Linked DNA regions of Homo sapiens: all the other regions are linked to region 1. Evidence: promoter capture Hi-C in 16 types of primary human blood cells and fetal thymus (Javierre and others, 2016). All regions are on one chromosome and are shown on one strand. The core of a region is centred on a gene start or on the middle of the fragment in contact, and the rest is flanking DNA. Distances in the headings are between cores, read along the strand shown.

What was found. Contacts are between HindIII fragments. The CHiCAGO score rates a contact against its expected background, and 5 or more counts as called.
Region 2: the fragment with the promoter of LINC01431 here is called in contact with the fragment with the promoter of RTF2 in region 1 in 1 of 17 cell types (total CD4 T cells); the score reaches 9.4 in total CD4 T cells.
Region 3: the fragment with the promoter of SNX5 here is called in contact with the fragment with the promoter of RTF2 in region 1 in 1 of 17 cell types (total CD4 T cells); the score reaches 6.4 in total CD4 T cells.

The regions. Positions count from the first base shown.
Region 1 is chr20:56,466,916-56,470,513 of GRCh38, reverse strand. It overlaps RTF2 (replication termination factor 2), which reads right to left and starts at 1,887. Exons shown (of 9, transcript NM_016407.5): 1 at 1,748-1,887. The coding sequence starts at 1,816. The HindIII fragment of the contact is 9,363 bases long and covers 1-2,876 here.
Region 2 is chr20:23,356,070-23,359,908 of GRCh38, reverse strand. LINC01431 (long intergenic non-protein coding RNA 1431) reads left to right here and starts at 1,782. Exons shown (of 3, transcript NR_109884.1): 1 at 1,782-1,954; 2 at 2,772-2,858; 3 at 2,940-3,315. RefSeq lists a silencer at 1,447-1,636 and enhancers at 1,687-2,076, 2,267-2,356. The HindIII fragment of the contact is 4,137 bases long and covers 1-2,798 here.
Region 3 is chr20:17,967,328-17,971,277 of GRCh38, reverse strand. It overlaps SNX5 (sorting nexin 5), which reads left to right and starts at 2,484. Exons shown (of 13, transcript NM_014426.4): 1 at 2,484-2,903. The coding sequence starts at 2,853. It overlaps MGME1 (mitochondrial genome maintenance exonuclease 1), which reads right to left and starts at 2,260. Exons shown (of 5, transcript NM_052865.4): 1 at 2,137-2,260; 2 at 908-1,477. The coding sequence starts at 1,418. RefSeq lists enhancers at 1,266-1,395, 1,416-1,615, 555-1,754, 2,336-2,645, 2,262-3,016 and 3 more and a silencer at 2,646-2,855. The HindIII fragment of the contact is 5,200 bases long and covers 212-3,950 here.

The sequences.
Region 1 (3,598 bases), core at 638-3,137:
ATATTGATCCGAAATGTAAGCTCCACCAGGGCTAGACTCTGCCTTGTTCACTGCTATATCCCTGGGGCCTACAACAATGTATATATGGTAACCACTTATTAAGCATTTGTTGTGTGAATAGTTATAATAAAAATCCATCCTGCCTAGGCATTCTGGCTTTTTTGAATCGCTCTTCCTTCTTTTCTACCCTCTTCCGACACCTGTTTCTTGTCAAGCCTTTCATTAAGCTACTCCTTTTCAGCCCTGGGCACAAGAAAACAAAACTGAGCTAAACACTTTTTTGGTGAAAGCCAAAAAACCACTCATGAATGCTAATTATCCAGCATTCGCCTGTTTACATGTACGTATGATCAGAGGGTACACTTCATCCTCTTGGGTATTCATTCATTCCCATATTCACACATACTTATTAGGTGTCTATTATGTGGCTGACACATGGTAGGGGTTACAGAGGTAAGACACACAAGGTTCCTGTCTACGTGGGAAAGAGACAATAAACAACACAGTGGTAGGCACTGTTAAGAAGAGAAGAGAGAATATTGGAAGTGAGGCACATTTCAGTTACAGTGGACAGATGACATTTGAGTAAAAAACTGAATGAAGTAAAGAAACTCATCATGTGACAATCTCAGTGAAGAGTATTTCAGATTGATGAACTCACACTCCAGGTTGAAGAACAAGAGGCCTGTTTAGCTAGAACAGTATGAAAGAGGTGGAGAGGGGCAGAAGATGAGGTCAGAAACATAGGCAAGGTCTGCTCAAGGGTCTGACGAGATTTTATTCTTAATGTGATGGGAAGCCACTGGAATGCTTCAAATACAATAGTGACTTAAGGGGTTTACCTTTTAAACAAGCTCTCCAGCTCCTGAATCAGAATACATGAAGTCTCCACGTGTGCTTTACAAATATTTTTGTAAAGAAGTCTCTACTAGGTGCTTTACAAATATTTTATCATTAAAAAGTAATTACTTGTGCTAACTTTGAAATCCCAAATAAGTGGATGGGAATCCTGGCTTCACTACCTACCAGCTGTGTGATCTTAGTCACCTTAATATCCCTGGACTCAATGTCCCCGTCAGTAGCAAAGAAATTATTATAATTTCCTCGATTACTTGTGAGATCAGGGATTATTCACTCATTTGTTTATTCGAAATATTTAGTGTGCCAGGAACCATGCTAGTTGCAGAGAAAAAAAGGGTACAGCCTCTGCTATCAGGAACTTACCGTCTAGCGGGGAAGACTTGATACAAATCAACCACGTACAGCCGTGTGCAGGCTAAGACAGTTTATAAAAGGATGTGGTAAGGGAACAGTTTGGGAAGGCTTCTCTGAGCAAATGAAGTTAGTGTATACAAAACTCAGTATACACTAGGTATTTGTATTATTGCTACTAGTCGCAGGTAGGGTTCAAATCCTGGCTCTGCCATTTACTAGCTTTGCAAATTTCTCCTTTTGAGCCTCAACTTCCATGTCTGAAAATGAGGACAACAGTATGTAGCTATAGGGCTATTGTGATAATTACATGAGATACCCCCTGTTAAGATTACTGTCCAGTGAATGGCAATAGTCAGCACCCATTGAATGTCCACTCTTAATACTGTTGTTAATTTTGAGTCCTCTGAATGGAATAAAAGACCGCAGCCAGGTCTGGAACTCCGCTGGCTCCCCCTTCTTACTTCCTCTCGTTTTCTGGGGTCGTCAAATTCCCACCACCCCCGGTCGCCAAGAGCCGGCCCACATCACTGACCTTCTCAACCTTCTTCGGCCCCTTCACCAGTTCATGCCTCTTGGGGATTGTTCCCCCGTCGCAACCCATCGCAGGACGGGAGTCAGAGCCAGCAGCAAACCCCCAAAGCTGTCACTTCCGGGATTTCCGGCGAAATCCGCAGCCACTTCCGGCGCACCGCCGTGACGCAGCACGCTGGTCGTGGCGTAGCGGGGCGGGGCGGGGCGGCACGCTAGGCGCGGCGTAGCGGGGCAGGGCGAGGCCGTTACCAAGTGCCGGTTGTCATGGAGAGCGTCGCTTGGAGGCTGGGCGTGGGCGGGTTTCCTCGTTCCCGTGAGACCCTGGGTTTCTGCTGCACAATCGGAATCACTCGCCCACGCTCCGGGAGGGCAGCGAGGGCGTGGGCGGCCCGTGCGCATCCACCGCTCTTTGACCCTATCCCACGCCAGCTTGTGTGGCTGCGGAGCGGGCACATCCCTGGACTGAGAGCGCCTTGAGGAAAAGGGCCGCCCTCCTGTTTCTGCGATTAAGGATGCCTATGAACGGAATCTGCTGTATCAATGGACATTTTTGTGTTTAAAAGGAGAACGCATCTTTCTTGAGCGCCAACTGTGACTCAAGCACTCACAACAAATCTTGTGAAGTGATGTTACAACAGATTCTAGGAAGTAAGACCCTCCCTTAAGGCCTGGAACTTTCTGGTGTTGCCATGCATATTGTAGATGGCATGTGTGTGAAATTTTGCATACAGTTTGTGCGTGTGTGTATTTCATTCACAGTTTCCTGAAGCCCAGGCTAAAAAAATTTTATTAACAATCAAGTATCATTAATAGACGATATAATAGTTCTTATAAAATATACACTGATGTTGCCATGCCCGTTCCAAGAGTCAGGCTGTATTTTATCTATAAGAACACAAATCCCTTGCTAAAAATTCATGATTGTCTGTCTGCTCTTAGGCGATTGTCTATCTCTCTGTTTGTTCCTTTAATTATTATAAATATTATGGGAAAGTGCCTATAATCCCAGCACTTTGGGAGGCCGAGACGGGAGGAGCACCTGAGCCCAGGAGTTCCAGGTCAGCCTGGACAACATGGTGAGACACCATCTTGAAAGAAAAAGAAAAATTAGCCAGGCGTTGTGGTAAGCTTTTGTAGTCCTAGCGGCTCCGGAGGCTGAGGGGGTAGGAAGGATTGCCTGAGCCCAGGAATTCAAGGTTGCAGTGAGCTTATGATTATGCCACTGCACTCCAGCCTAGGCAACAGAGCAAGACTCTGTCATTAATATGTATGTATGTATGTATGTATGTATTTGTACATATATATGATGGGAAAATTTCTCCATTGCCAAGAAGGCAGATCTTTATGATTGGATATTACCCTATTGACCTACGTGAAACATAAAAACGCTGAAAATATTTTTTACTTGGGAAGAGTTGCCCAGAAAATACGTGGATGTGGAAACTTCAAGGGCTATATGTAAGCTTGGGGTACTTGTTACTGTGATTAATGAGAATTTTAAAAAATAATCCCTTTAATTAGTTGGTCTCTGATTGATTTATGATTTATTTCTATGCTAACCACAATAACTGTAAGCTCTATGAGGGTAGGGACTTCATTTTGTTTTGTTTTGTTTTAGACAGAGTCTCGATCTGTTGCCCAGACTGGAGTGCAGTGATGTGATCTCGGCTCACTGCAACCTCAACCTCCCAGGATCAAAGCGATTCTCCTGCTTCAGCCTCCCCAGTCGCTGAGATTACAGGCGCCCGCCACCATGCTGGGCTAATTTTTGTATTTTTAGTAGAGACGGGGCTTCACCGTGATGGCCAGGCTGGTCTCAAACTCCTGATCTCAGGTGATCCACCTGCCTCGG
Region 2 (3,839 bases), core at 533-3,032, about 33 Mb after region 1:
AACAGAGGAAAACTCTGTCTCAAAAAAACAAAACCAAATTAGCCGGGAGTGGTGACAGGCACTTGTAATCCCAGATGCTCAGGAGGCTGAGGCAGGAGAATCACTTGAACCCAGGAGATGGAGGTTGCAGTGAGCTTCGATCATGCCATTGCACTCCAGCCTGGGCAATAGAATGAGACTCCGTCTCCGATTATGTTAGCTAGCATAACATAATGCTAGCTTATCCATTCAATACTGAAAGGATTGCTTTAGTTGAGTGTCTTAATAGCTTTAAAAATAGAGGTCATAAGACTCACAGACTCTTTGTGGCAATACTAAATGATAAAGAATGAAGGGCCATGCCTGGCAAGGGTTGTCATGCACCTCTACACTTCAAGAAGAAACTATGCCTTAACTGCCACAAGGTTTTTATTCTCTGGCAGCCAAACAAGCACTGGCCTCTAGATAAGCAATATTCAAACAATGTGCTTTTCATCCACCTCCACATGCTGACTGACACGCCCCCTGCCCCAGCCCCACCACTTCCACAAATAATTACTGCTTTGATTGGACCAGAGACTGACTGCAGTAACTTTTTCCTGATGGGAAACAACCGAACAGGGGCTGATTCTGGCGGTTTACAGAGGCTGCACACAAGTGCATCGGTGTCCTGAAAAGATCTTTCAACTTATAGGGTCTAAATGTAATACATGAATACCTGTAAATGCTAAGAGTCCACCCCAAAGTAAACATAGGTCACCTGTAACATGCACGTTTGTCCAGTAAGCATGGGTCAGGACCCGTTTCATGAATATTCATAGCTCTTCCTGTGGCCTGTTCATATGTGTACTTGGCTAAGTCCTTCAGCTTAAATTCCTGTCTTAGGCCCCCTTCCCTCCAGCTGCCTGCCTTTTGAGCTTCTGCCAGAAGCTATGCTTCCCAGCCTGTCAGAAGGGCCACCTTGCAGGTTATCACCGTTTAAAGAAATAAAGCTCTCCTTTCTATGTTTGTGATCTTTTTTTTAAATAATACAAATAGACAATTCACTTGACAGTGTGAATGGCATACTTCACTGACAATGGAATACTATAAAAACAATAATAAACCACTGATAAACATCAACCTGACAAAGTTAAATATAGTGTTTCATGCTGTAGAACTCTGCACGAGAAAAGTACACGGGAGTGAACAATTGTTACGTAAGGGCGTTCACTGCAGTGCACTTACATTAGTGAAACTTTGGAAACAATCTCACCTATAAGGAGATGGCCGAAGAATTTGATATATCCAAGCACTGGATTATTATGCCGGTCATTAAAACAATGTTTAAAAATATGTGTAATAGCTTGGGGAAATGCTCACCATGTTATAATGAGTAAAGACGGTACACTATTTTACATAGGGTCTGATGTGATTTGAAAACAAATCTATAGAAATAGACTGGAAAGAAATGTATCAAATTCTAAACTGCACAAGGAAGAACACTGACGCACGCGCAACGCCGGCGCCCTGCCCACTAGGCGCCCTCGCTGCCCCTCACCTGCACAGCCGGCGCACGCCCACAGGCTCGTGAGGGAGCGGCCGGTGGGTCAGGCTGGGCGGCACTCCTCGCCCATTGGCTGTCCCGGAGTCCGGCCCCGCCTCTCCCCGCCTTCTGGAGCCGCTGGTATAGCTCCTTCCAGGGCTCCTTGGAGACGGAGGGCGGGGCTAGGGCGCCGGAGTCACGTGGTCGCGCCACCGCGCGATTACTAGCTGTCAAAAGAGTCCTCAGAAGTGTCCTGAGCGGTCGCAGGGTAATGACGTCGGCCGTATCGGGGATGCTGGAACCTGCGGTTGAGTGAGAAACCGGCGCCACCGCCTGCGTCTTGGTCTCGGGCTGGTGGCCAGCGGGGTCTGGGCGTGGTTTTACCCAGCTCCTTTGCGAAGCTGCTGTCCTTTCCTCAACGTTACCACCCGGCTGGGCAGCCTACCCTCGGTCAGTACGTCCTGGCAAGAGCGCTTCGGGCGTGGCGTTCGTGTCGCGGGGGCCTCGGCTCAGAAGCGAGGGAAGAGCAGCCCTCAGAGGAGCGGCGACCGCGCTTACCGGGAGCCCGGGTTGGGAGAGGGCTCCCCAGGAGGGGTGTGAGCTCCGAACGAGAAAGAACGCCACCGCCTCGTGGGGTCTCTTCCTAATGTGCAGATTCCAAATCTCTACAATGCTGCAAAAGAGGTTACAGTCCACATCAAATTAAGCATGCCCTAAAGGGCAGCTGGGGTTCAGTTCAAGAGTTGAGTTTTAACACACACCTTTACCTGCCTTAAAATTGGGCAAGGTATCACAACGTTAAACCATTTCTCACAAGGCTCGTTGGTGATGTTTAAGATTTTTTGTTTGTTTGTTTGTTTTTTGTTACGGAGTCTCGCTCTGTCGCCCAGACTGGAATGCAGTGGCGCGATCTTGGCTGACTACAACCTCCGCCTCCTGGGTTCAAGCGATTGTCCTGCCTCAGCTTCCTGAGTAGCTGGGATTACAGGCGCCTGCCACCACGCCCAGCTAATTTTTCTATTTTTAGTAGAAACGGGGTTTCGCCTTGTTGGCCAGGCTGGTCTTAAGTTTTGCATCCTGGCTCCCTCCTCTTACCTAGTCCCAGCCTCTTGTCTACAGGACAAAGCAACTTTCTGCAGTTTTCTGTTTGCTCTTTAGAGAGACGGGGCCCTAATTTGGCAAAGTGGTAGGGGAGACAGGGCTGGTGTTTAAGGTCGACCAAAGCAACATCTAAATCTCTGCTCTTCCCCCAAATTGTCCAAATTAGCAGCAACAGGTGTGCACCTTCCAAGCTTGCAACAGACCACATTCAGAAGCTTGATTTCTTGTTGTTCTGGGAATATCTGGATCAGAGGTAACATGGTTCACTAGGACTCCTCAGCTTCACCCAGTGTCCATTTCACCTCCCCCGGCCTTCCAATGTCTCTTCTTGCAGATTTCTCCAAGCCACTCTCCCCGTCATCTCCTCCACCCCCAGGACCCAACTCCTGCCCCTCCCACCCTAGCCCCTGTTCTCCCTGCCCACCTCCTACCCCACTGGAGTGGCCTTTCATCAAACCTAAACCAAAGAAACCAACAGACCTTGCTGTCACCACTACTCCGGGACCTGGAAGTTAAAGCGAGGGAGAGACGGTGAAACACAGAAAGCAGAACGCCTTCTGTTCTTCCACAACACAGGGTTTGTGGACGTGGCCACTATAAGAACTCGCACTGCGTGCTGATTATACTCCTCAGCACAATTCATTTCTTAAACTTTTTAGAATAATTTAAAATTTACAAAAAGTTGCAAAAATAAAAACCAGTAAACTTTTCACCTTCATCTGCCTTATAATTAAGGCAGCGGGCAGCGCGCTGGACAGAACGGGAGGGGCTTGCGCTTTCCGCCGGTGGGAAACCCCACCCGCAGGGACGAGCCGGGACCATCTGGCCCTACCTGCCGAACGGCCGCTTGGTGGAGATGTGTCCCAGAACCGAAGGAGGAGGGTGCCACGCACATTTGTCTTGCCTTCCCCGGTGGCGGGGGCATGGCAAGGGCGGAGCTTCCCGCTGTGCCCTTGGAGGCCGCCTGCAACCAGGCTAGTGTAGGTGGGGACGCACGCCCTGTACCCTACCCATCCTGCCCATTGCGGGTCTGGCCCGGACCTGAAGGGCAGTAGTTGGGGCCGTCCCCGCGTCTTCTGGGCCCTGTAGTGAATACAGTCTGCCCCATTCAAATCCTTTTCCTCACTTAGGATTACTGCTGTGTGTCAGTGTCACACACCCCAAATTGATAATGGCTTAAGATGGGATTTCTCATTTAAAAAGAAGTCTTTGGTTGAGTGAGCTGGGGCTATTT
Region 3 (3,950 bases), core at 1,235-3,734, about 38 Mb after region 1:
TATCCAATACCACCTATATATACTTAGTATTTTTCTTTAGAACATGTGACATGTTTAATGTGTTACACGCATAGTTTTAGGAGTCTGGATTAGGGAAAAGACGACTTAAATAGAAGCCCAGGCTATGGCAAGGGTCAGTACACTATTCTTAAAACAAAAATGAAAGAGTTTGTGTACTACTAAGAGTACATGTACTGCACTTTGGGAAGCTTGGGTAAAGGAATGATTGATGTGAAACTTTCCTTTAACAAAAGACCCCTATATAATTTATGGGACTAGCTAATTCACCAGTGCCAATGGTCTTTGTTTTTGAATGGAATATTAAATTTAAGGAAGCTATTCTCCTCACTTGTCCAAGTTAGTAAATTAGAAGTTGAAGGTTAAAGTGTATTTATCCTCAGATCCTTATGAAGAACCTCTGATTATGTTTACCAAGGTCTAAATATAGGTCATGTGTTCTGGTCTGCTTCAAGGTCTTTAAATTTACGAGTCAGTTTACGCTAATAAGTAGGACAGTGGGTATTTACTGGATTCTAAACAGAATTATCTAGCAAACAACTAGAATTCTGTTACCAGGTGACTTTTTTCAATAATCAAGGAAAACAAGCAATTCTAATATTGTTGGTAGCTTATAAAACAAGTGAATTTTATGTATTATTTAGTCAAATATTTGATCTATTTTAGTTTCATCTGTAAAATGTGGATAACAGTATCTATACTCCACAGGACTACCATGAGGATCAAGTGAGTTAATACACATAAAGTGCTATTTAATGTTAATTACTATCTGAAGGGAGTTCCTTGCTAGTAAGTTAAAAAAACAAAACCAAACCTCATTCTTTTGACACCGTTGCTCTCTATTATAGAAAACATAGCAAACATATAGAATCAGAATTGAGATAATTACTTGAAGTGTATTCTTTAAAGCCATCTTCTCCCAGTTCCAGAATCATCCGCTGTTTCCACCTCTCCAACAAGAAAACCTGTTGTTTTGTCATGGTCTGCTGAAGGACTCGGGTCACACTTGGTATCACATTCCTTTGCAAGGGGATTTTCAAAGGAACTGAAGGATCACTTGCATTTGGTTTATCACTTCTCTCTGGATTGAAGATAGGAAACCAGTTTTGTGGCACTCGTCTGTCCTCACCTTGGTTTGGCAGCTTATGCTTGCTCACGGGTCCACAGAGCAAAGCATCTTCCTCCACCGATCCCGGGGTCTGGGCGACGCCTCTGGATGACAAGACAGACTGAACTAAATTAGAGTATTTTTCTTGGTCCACTTCTTCATATGGGTTCACTTTTTTCTTCCGGCCACATGAGTAAGAGGAAGTAGAGAAAGCCACAAGGGCAGCTGATTCCACAGAAAACTTTGAACTCCTGAGCTGCCTGCAAATGGTCTGAAATAACTTCATCTTCATTCAGATTTGTTTTCACTTTAGTCTATTTGCAACGGTCGAAGGCCTTTATGTTTGTATTCCTATTGGAGAGAAAACAACCATCAAAGCGAAAGCTGCATCAGAATGATATTGCACATCAAAATTGTGAACTTTTTCGACATGTTTGGACAGAGCCCTTTCTTAAGAAAGTCGACAGAGCGAGACCCTGCCTCCAAAAAAAATTTATAAATAAATCAAGACTCAATACCCGAAGGACCGACACATACTAAATGCGAATTAGTAGACAGCTTGAGGCAAGACGTCCCAGTTTCTAATCTGCAGGAATGTGACGCCCAGGAAGGGAGGCGTGTGCGAGACACGGAAAAACACAAAGATGGAGCCCGTCCCATGGCGGCCACACAGTCCTAGGTGACAGACGACGACTAATTCCTAGACACCAGGCTCTCTGCTAAGTATTCTGTGTGGATACTTCTCATTTGGTCCTCACACCCTCTACCGTGGGTCTAGAATGAACCCGTTGCACAGACGTGGAAATCGGGTTGGAGGGTCCCGTCGCTCGCCGGTCAGAGCTGGTGGCGGCGCTGAGGTCCCATTACTGTGACCGCAAAAAGTCGCCTCCCGCTCCGCCGTGGGTGCGGACCCCTGGCGGGGCCAGGACGGCGGTGGCCCCTGTGGCAGGAGTCTGGATTAGAGAAAAGACGACTTAAATAAAAGCCCAGCCTACGGCAAGTGTCGGTACCTTGGAAGCCACCACACTTCGCTTAACTCTCAAGGCGCGAACAACCTCTCGCGACCCGTACTTTCATCCGTCCCGCGCTTTGGTTTCGAATTAGGCACAGCCTAAGGCAAAGCAGGTCCAGAATGCCCCGCGGCGCTCACGCCCCACCCGAGGCTTTCGTCGGCCTCCGCCAACGCGCCACCAGTTAGAGGCAGGGAGTACCTCTCCGAGCGGAAGGGCCGGCGTCTCCGAAGCGCGGGAGCCTCCAAATCGCGCCCTTCTGCTCTCACGAGATCTGGTGACGTCAGCGCTCGCTGCCATCTTGGACTCGGGCTGAGTAATAAATTCCCCCCGCACCGAAACGCGGTCTTTCTCTAGACGCGTCTTGCTGGGAGAGTGTCCGTTGCTTCCCGTCCGTGTCGCGGCCCTGCGGTTGGCGGCCTCCTCGTGGAGCGGAGCAAGGGTAGGCCCCACGTGGCGTCTTTGCCCGGCTCCAAGATGGACGGCAGCGGGGACTGGGAGGCTGCTCTGGGGGAGCACGTGGCGCCCTGCTCGCCTGCTCCCGGGGCAGCTGGGATGGTGGCGGAGTCCGGAGGCCTCCTGCCGCCGTCGGGCAGGGAGGCCGGCGGAGGCGGGGCCGTGGCCGCCCCCGAGAGGCGCCCAGGCGGCGGCGGCGGCGGCCCAGCTTCTTCTTTCCTCGCACAGCCAGGCGGCCCCTGCTCGAGTCCCGCGTCGCCATGGCCGCGGTTCCCGAGTTGCTGCAGCAGCAGGAGGAGGACCGCAGCAAGGTGAGGTCCTCCCAGCCTCAGACTCCTGGGCGGGCGGCCCTGCGAGCTCCGGGGTCGCTGCATTCTTTCCCTTGCGCGTCCATAGGCCGTGGCTGCTCGCCGCCATCCCCAGCGCGGGAAGCACCCGTGAGACCCGGGCGGCCCCTCTCCCTGGTCTTCACTGAAGGCTGCCCCGGGGAATCCCTGTGGATGTCCCGGATTCTATTAGGACAGAACCAGAGACGCGGGACCTTAGCCCCAGCTCAGGCGCCGGTGCCGAGCGGACTTGGAGAGATGATCTCTGGAGACCCCGGAATGTTCTTTTTAAAACTTTCCTCGGCTTCGTGGTGACCAGTAGGTGAACGTGAAATTGACTTAACATGCGACAGACCAGTTTGGTTTGTTGCCCCCAAAATACCCTCCTTCCCCCCACCTTTTACTGAGAAGACTTTTTTGGGGGGGGGGCCCAAACAACTTGGGAAATTGCATCAAGCGTCCGAACATGCTGCTTACAACTTTAGAAACGCAAAATGCGTTGTTGTGGGAGTTGTGTAATTTTTAGTAGGTGCTCAAATACTTGCTGAACTTGGTGTCTATTTTTAAGTCTTGCCCATTGATGTAAACTGTCCCTAGGTCACGTGTATCTTGAGGTCTAAAAGATTATTTATGCAATAAATTGAAATTCCCATAGCCAATTAAAGATTCAGACGAGCCTCCACTCTTTTTCATTGGTTCTTTAAATTTGCCTCGGTAGCTTTGCGATGCATGGTTTGCGAGCAACCTTTCTTGCAGAATCGTCAACGTAAGTTTTTCTGACCGATGAAAAAGAACCTCTAAAAATACAAGGCTCTCTTAAAATGTAATTTGGAGCCGTCTTAACTTACACATTTCTTGAGAAGTTAAAGGCACCTCCATAGAGAAACTTGTTCATCTAGTAAGTAAATACCAGAGTTTCAAAGCGGCTGGATTGTTCCAACAAGGGTATCATTGCATTAATTATTAAAATAGAGCTTTCTATACAGGAGGGTGTTGTTTAGAGTGGTTTTTTTTTTGAAAGTTCTTTATTAC